Linked DNA regions of Homo sapiens: region 1 is linked to region 2. Evidence: promoter capture Hi-C in human tissues and cell types (Jung and others, 2019). All regions are on one chromosome and are shown on one strand. Each heading gives the region's core, a stretch centred on a gene start or on the middle of the fragment in contact. The rest is flanking DNA. Distances are from core to core; before and after follow the strand shown.

Region 1 (3,475 bases), core at 520-3,019, 330 kb after region 2:
GGCATGGCTTGGGGTCTGGGGCTTCCCGTGCTGACAGTTCACCCAGTCTCCCTCCCTAGCTGCTGAGGACTCAGAGATCTCGTCCCAATGCCCATCAGCCAGTGGCTCCAGTGGCTCTGACAGCAGCTGTGTGTCAGGGCAGGCCCTGGGTAGGGGCCTGGAGGACTTACCCTGTGTGAGTGCCATTTGCCCTATACCCACCAGCCCTTCCCCAGCCCAAGCTGAGCCTGTGACTGTGACCAGCCCCTCCCCAGCCCAGGCTAGGCCTTTACTTTGGGTAGAGCTTGGGGTGGGTGGGCCAGAGCCATTCCCCAGACACCTCCTGGGTCCAGAGTCAGGGAAGCAGGCATTCATGCCTGGCCTGGCCCTGCAGGTCTGAGCCCGGGACTGGACGAGCAGTAGATCCAGCAGCCTGCAGCTCCAAGGAACATTGCCTCTCTGGATCTGCTGTGACCAGGGTGTGGCTGACACCTGGGCTACCTCCAACCTACATGTGCAACGCTGTTGACTACCCTTTCTGATGTGTGTGGCCATTGGACTAACTGGCACGGGGCCTCTCTAGGGAAGTCTGGTTGTAGAGCCTGAATAGGCTCCTGGCCCCATGACCCCTTCTCCTGTCCCCAGCTCCCATCCCAGTTGTGGGTTAAGAATAGGCTAGAGCAGACATTGGGTGTTTCCATGCTGTAGGCTGGTGGGGGACCATGTGCCTCTAGGCAGTGACTAGGGTGCCCCCACCCCTCAGGAAGAACACAGGTGGGCTCCTAGCAGCTGATCCCCAATGCCTGGCCTTAAAGCCGAGCTCAGTTACCATAGGGACAGGTCCACCTCTACTGGGCCCTCATGCTTGCCTTTCCTGGCCCCCAGGCCCAGCCCCTTTTTACTGGGGCAGTTTCGTTATTTTGACTTGATGCCTTTTGAATAACTTTCAATAGAATTGTCTAAAATTATCTTACTGGTTGTTAGGCCTTTGGTGTCTCAGAGAAGGAGTCTAGGTCTTTGATGTGTGATTTAATCTTTTATTTGTTTATAATAAAAAATAGACTGATATGTACCCTCTGATGGGCACATGCATTCTGGGCTATCTCCAATTAAAATGAGACTTGGCGGGTGGGGCATGAGGGGCTGCATCTCTGGGCACCCTAGTCCTCTTGTAGGTACTTTCCCAGGATGGAGTAAGAGACAGACCTAGACAGGCCCCTCTGGATGAGCAGGTCCATGCATCGGCCATATTTCCTGGCGAAGGGCAGTGTAAGCTGGAAGGAAAGGCCAGTCTTATCCCTGATTTCCTGGCCAGTTGTCTACTCTAGCTCCATGTGGGTGGGGTTCTCCCATTGGGGCAGGGACAGGGCAAGCCCGGCTGTTGGGGACTTTTGATGCTCTAGGGCCCAGCTCTGCCCCAGGGCATCTCACAGGGTGGGGCTAGAAATGGCTATCAGGGAACAAAGCAGAAAGACCGGAGGTTCAAAAATCTGTTTCCTGCTACTGGTTTTCTGCTTTTTAGCCATACATGCTGACTTCACCTTTACAAACCACATATGAGCCAGATGCCTAATGGTAACTGGGTACTAGAGGGCTTGTGGTGAAAGGTGTTATAATAATGCTCTTGATTATAGAAGTGTCAGATCAATGAGAAACTGCCTAAATCGTTTCGGCCTCAATGTTAAAATTAGATTAAGGAATCAGAAAAGGAAAAAGAAAAAAACCCTTGATCATTCCTTTGCCCTTACTGAATATTTTCTTTTTTTTTTTTTTTTTTTTTTTTTTTTGAGACGGAGTCTCGCTCTGTCACCCAGGCTGGAGTGCAGTGGCACGATCTCGGCTCACTACAAGCTCCGCCTCCCGGGTTTACGCCATTCTCCTGCCTCAGCCTCCTGAGTAGCTGGGACTACAGGCGCCCACCACCACGCCTGGCTAATTTTTTTGTGTTTTCAGTAGAGACGGGGTTTCACTGTGTTAGCCAGGATGGTCTCGATCTCCTGACCTCATGATCCACCCGCCTCGGCCTCCCAAAGTGCTGGGATTACAGGCGTGAGCCACCGCGCCCGGCCTAAGAATGCTTAAAAGTAGTTTAGAAATGAAAGGAATGTACACAATTGGTGACATCGTGGCCAGATAGGTGAAGCTGGTATCACTGGTTGAAAAGGCCTCACTCCCATATGAGTCAAAGCTTGGGCTCATATGATATGTGTCCCTAAGTGTGGCCAGGGTTGTTAGTGATGAAGGCACAGCTGGTATCATTGGAGGAAAACTGTAAAAACCAGTGGCCTGAATACTGCTTTTGGACTACTCTGGATTGGTTAATTTCATGCAGTTTCTCCCTCCCTGGGAGCAGTGGCCTAAGCTGCCTGTCTAGCCTTCTGGGCAGTGCTGGCCCAGCCCTGGTGCAGCAAGACACACGTCCATCTGAGGCATCCACAGGGTCGGTGGATTCCCAGGGATTGCAAGTGGCCCTCACCTCCACCCAGCTGTACAGGCGCTCCTGGGTGTGCCGGTCATCCTTGAAGCCGGTGATGGCCAGCAAATCTACCACAAACTGCTTGGGGCTGATGTGCAGGGTCTGCCAGGAGAGCCCACAGTCAGGCAGTGCTAGGGCAGCTCCTAGCCCCTCAGAGTGAGATGCAGAGCGGGGACTTCTCTGGGCCCACAGAGCCACAGGGGTAGGGGGCGGGCACTGTCACTGCAAATCTGCCTCTTGGCCGAGGCTCAGTCCAGGTGCAACTGCTCTGCTTGCCTCCCTGTCCCACCACTCTTCTGGCCCTGGCCTTCTCCTTAACCCCATCTTGGCTTACTTCCTCTTGCCTTGCACCACTTATTGTGGGGCAGGGGAAGAGGTGGAGAAGGTACAGGGTGCCCCAGGGCCTGAGGCCTGTCACACATACCCACAGCCGATTGGCCAGGGAGACCACCTTGGCTGTGATGGCTTTGGGGTCCTTTTGCCTGATGGAATCCATGATGATGTCAGCCAGGAAGCAGTGACATTTCTGTGCATAAAACATCTCTTCCCAGGACAGAGAGAAACTCAGGAAAGTCACTTCTGTGGAGGAGGGAAAGTGGATGTGGCCACATCTGTCAATAGCTAGGGCCTTAGAGACAGTGTGAGGAGGGGGAGAGGGGTAGGGCCCCCAGGGGCCACTGTCTCTGCCTGAAGTACCCTGGGAGGGGGCTCAGGCATCCTCACGAGGAGGCGCAGGGCTCGGCCTGGCTCCAGAGCCTCACCTTGGGGCTGGGGACTGGCTGTGGGTGTTGTGTGCCTGAGGTTGTCCATCTCCGTGGTATAGATGATGCTGTCCTCAAAGAACATGCAGAAGCCATCGCTGCCCACCACGGGGGGGTGAGTCACTTTGAGGATAACCCCTAGGCTGTCCACCTCACTGGCCTCGGGCAGAGGCTGCTCAGGGGCAGGGCTTTCTGTGAAAACAACATAGGGAGGGGGCTCTCCTTTTAAAAAAAAATTTTTTTTCAAGATAGAGTTTTG
Region 2 (3,536 bases), core at 221-2,720:
ACCCCAGGCTGCCGGGGAAGATTCAGGAAGCTGCAATGGTTTTTTATGAATTTTTTTTTAGAGAGAGAGTCTTGCTATGTTGCCCAAGCTGGCCTCAAGCTCCTGGGCTGAAGCAATCCTCCTGCCTCAGCCGCCTGAGTAGCTGGGACTACAGACTTGTGCCACAATGCCCAGCTGGCACTAGTTATTTTTGGCAGAAGGGAAGTTTCATCCTAAAGCCTGTCTCTTCAGCTCTGGGTGCCAGCTGGAGCCCCGGAAGAGGATCTGGCATCGTGTTTAGGCACAACCCTCACTCTGTCTTTCACTGGGCCAGCAAATATCTATCCATCCTCCCACCGCCTACTCCCAGCCAGCCATGTTCCTGACACTGAGGCCCAGAAGTGAGTCCTGCCCTCCCTGGGGGTGGGAGCCTCCTAAGCCAGCAGAGAGACAGATGCCCTGCAGATCCCCGCCCCGGTCAAGAGCAGGCTTCCATCAGTTCTGGTTCCCAGACTCTCCTCTCCTCAGGCTTCCATGAGTTCTGGTTCCAAGCCCCTCCCCTCCTCTCCCCTCCCCTCCCTCCCTCCCTCCCTCTCTCTCTTTCTTTCTCTCTCTATTTTTCTTTTTTCTCTTTTTGTTTCTTTCTCTTTTTCTGTCTCTTTTTCTTTCTCTCTCTCCTTTCTCTCTCTCCTTCTTTCTCTCTCTCCTTTCTTTCTTCTCTCTCTCTCTTTCTCTCTTTCTTTGTCTTGCTCTATAGCCTAGCCTAGAGTGCAGTGGCATTATCACAGCTCACTGCAGTCTCGACAACCTGGGCTCAAGTGATCCTCTCACCTCAGCCTCCCAAGTAGCTGGGACCACAGGCATGCACCATCACACCTGGCTAATTTTTTTTATTTTTTCTAGAGACGTGTCTCCCTGTGTTGCCCAGGCTGGTCTCAAACTCCTGGGCTCAAGCGATCTTCCTGCCCCATCCTCCTAAAGCACTGGGATTACAGGTATGAGCCACCACACCCAGTCCCAAGCCTCATGTTTTCACACACACACTCACACACACATGCAAACATGTACCCTCACTTCAATGCTATGAGGTGGGTCCTATTATCATCACTGTTTTATTTTCTTTCACATTTTAACATGAGATTTGGAGGGGACAAAACATCCAAACCATATCAAGCCCTCACCTCAGGCTGGGTTGCCCACTCGGAGTGGCACCCCAGGGTCACTGGCCACCACTTCCTAGGGTCAGTGATGTGGTCACCTTGGGATGAACGCACAGGATTTCATGGAGATCACCAAGTCAGGAGAGCTGGAATTTGAAAACAGTGGGACGGGGAGGGCTGTCATATCAACCAGGCCTCTGCAGGGCACTCATCTAGCCCTGCCTCTGGCTCAGCCTGAGCATGGGGCTGGCCACCAGCTAGGTGGCGCTGTCCTTGGAGGTTCTATATCACAGCCCTTTAGAGATCGGTGGTGCTGAAGGGCAGGGATCTTATTCCACCTTCTGAAGCTTCTGTCGAACCAGTTGTAAGGAGAATGGAGAGAGCAGTGAGAGTGGAGTCCGGGGTCCTGGTCGGGGTGGTCTGTCTGCTCCTGGCATGCCCTGCCACAGCCACTGGTAAGACACACCTGCTGGGCCTGCAGAGGTACTTGGTGTGGAGGAGTCAAGAGTGAGACAGGGACAGGGAGCAGTGGGCCGACCGCTCAGGAAACAGTCCTGTTTGGAGGCAGACCAGGGGTTGTGCATTCTCTCTGGGCAGGCGCTCTGCTCTTGCTGTATTTGTTTCGTTGTTTTTGTTGTTGTTGTTTGAGACAGAGTTTTGCTCTTGTTACCCAGGCTGGAGTGCAATGGCGCGATCTCGGCTCACTGCAACCTCCGCCTCCTGGATTCAAGCGATTCTCCTGCCTCAGCCTCCTGAGTAGCTGGGATTACAGGCACCTGCCACCATGGCCGGCTAATTTTTGTATTTTTAGGAGAGATGGGGTTTCACCATGTGGGCCAGGCTGGTCTCAAACTCCTGACCTCAGGTGACCCACCTGCCTCGGCCTCCCAAAGTGCTGGGATTACAGGCGTGAGCCACCGCACCTGGCCTGTCTTTATGTCTTAAGGGGGCCTGAGATTTGTTTTAATGAAGTATAGTAAGACAAGCAGATATGCAAATGACTATCATGAGGGAAGGAGTTTGCTCGTAGTTCCCTGTGAACAGGAAGCAGGCCATGCCACATAGGGCCACAGAGGGAAGCACCAGGTGGCATCAGCCAGGAGGCAGAGGGAGCAGGGGGAAAATGTGGGCAAGCCCCTTTGACACGGTTGCCACGGGAAGGAATAGGCAAGGCAGGCTAAAGAGGTTTACGATTGGCAGCAGGCTCTGGGGAAAGGGGCTGTCCCCAGCCAGCTTCCTGGTACCCGGCTCTGTGGTGATTATGGCTGGTGGATGGCAGCCAGGAGCTGAGAGCTGTATAAAGGAGGTGGTTGGGTATGGCTCTGGACTGGTTTGCCTTTGCTCCCTAGAGAGATGCCTGCCAATTCCACCTCCCCAGAGAGCTGCCTCCTATCTCTAGGAATTGTCTAGCCTGGGAGAGGCAGTCCTCCAGTCTTAGTCTGTTTGTGTTGTTGTAAAAGAATACAGGAAGCTGGGTAATTCACAAAGAAAAGAAGTTTAGTTAGGCCACAGTTCTGCAGGCCGTACAAGAAACATGGTGCCAGCTGGGCATGATGGCTCACACCTGTCGTCCCAGCACTTGGGGAGGCTGAGGTGAAAGGATTGCTTGAGCCCAGGGGTTTGAGACCAGCCTGGGCAACATAATGAGACCCCATCTCTACTTTTTAAAAAATAATTCAGGGCTGGGCATGATGGCTCATGCCTGTAATGCCAGCACTTTGGGAGCCCCAGGTGGATGGATTACTTGAGGTCAGGAGTTCGAGACCAGCCTGGCCAACATGATGAAACCCCGTCTCTACTAAAAATACAAAAATTAGCCAGGCGTTGTGGTGCACACCTGTAATCCCAGCTACTTGGGAGGCTGAGGCCCTGGAGTCGCTTGAACTCGGGAGTCAGAGGTTGCAGTGAGCCAAGATCGTGCCACTGCACTCCAGCTTGGTCAACAGAGCTAGACCCTGTCTCAAACACAAAAAATAAAAACAAAGAAATGGGCAAGTGGCTGGCCCCAAGGCACAAGGCCCTAGTGGCAGGCCCGGTCTGGCCTGGAGTGGAGTGGTAGTGACTCTCAGGCAGGCAGGGAGGAGGAAGTTGGGCGTCAACCTAAGACCAGGCTCACCGGCTTGCTGGGAAGGTTACCAAGATGCTGTGTGGTAAGTACTGAGAACAGCCTGAGGGTTTGTCTTTCACTCCTTCCCCTCATGGGGGCTGCAAACTCACCCCGTGGCCTTTCTGTCCTTCCCTCAGGGCCCGAAGTTGCTCAGCCTGAAGTAGACACCACCCTGGGTCGTGTGCGAGGCCGGCAGGTGGGCGTGAAGGGCACAGACCGCCTTGTGAATGTCTTTCTGGGCATTCCATTTGCCCAGCCGCCACTGGGCCCTGACCGGTTCTCAGCCCCAC

The links. Contacts are between HindIII fragments. The study calls those that stand out against the background at their distance.
Region 1: a fragment that was not itself captured here is called in contact with the fragment with the promoter of CES3 in region 2 in 1 of the 25 tissues and cell types used here (spleen).

The regions. Positions count from the first base shown.
Region 1 is chr16:67,288,430-67,291,904 of GRCh38, forward strand. It overlaps PLEKHG4 (pleckstrin homology and RhoGEF domain containing G4), which reads left to right. Exons shown (of 22, transcript NM_001129729.3): 21 at 60-175; 22 at 374-1,051. The coding sequence ends at 379. KCTD19 (potassium channel tetramerization domain containing 19) reads right to left here. Exons shown (of 16, transcript NM_001100915.3): 13 at 3,217-3,408; 14 at 2,880-3,034; 15 at 2,456-2,557; 16 at 1,003-1,253. The coding sequence ends at 1,140. Among named protein-coding and RNA genes, the nearest start is that of PLEKHG4, 11 kb to the left of the region's middle. The HindIII fragment of the contact is 4,855 bases long and covers 1-3,475 here.
Region 2 is chr16:66,959,796-66,963,331 of GRCh38, forward strand. CES3 (carboxylesterase 3) reads left to right here and starts at 1,471. Exons shown (of 13, transcript NM_024922.6): 1 at 1,471-1,594; 2 at 3,384-3,536. The coding sequence starts at 1,513. RefSeq lists enhancers at 1,113-1,362, 1,167-1,668, 1,453-1,662. The HindIII fragment of the contact is 25,956 bases long and covers 1-3,536 here.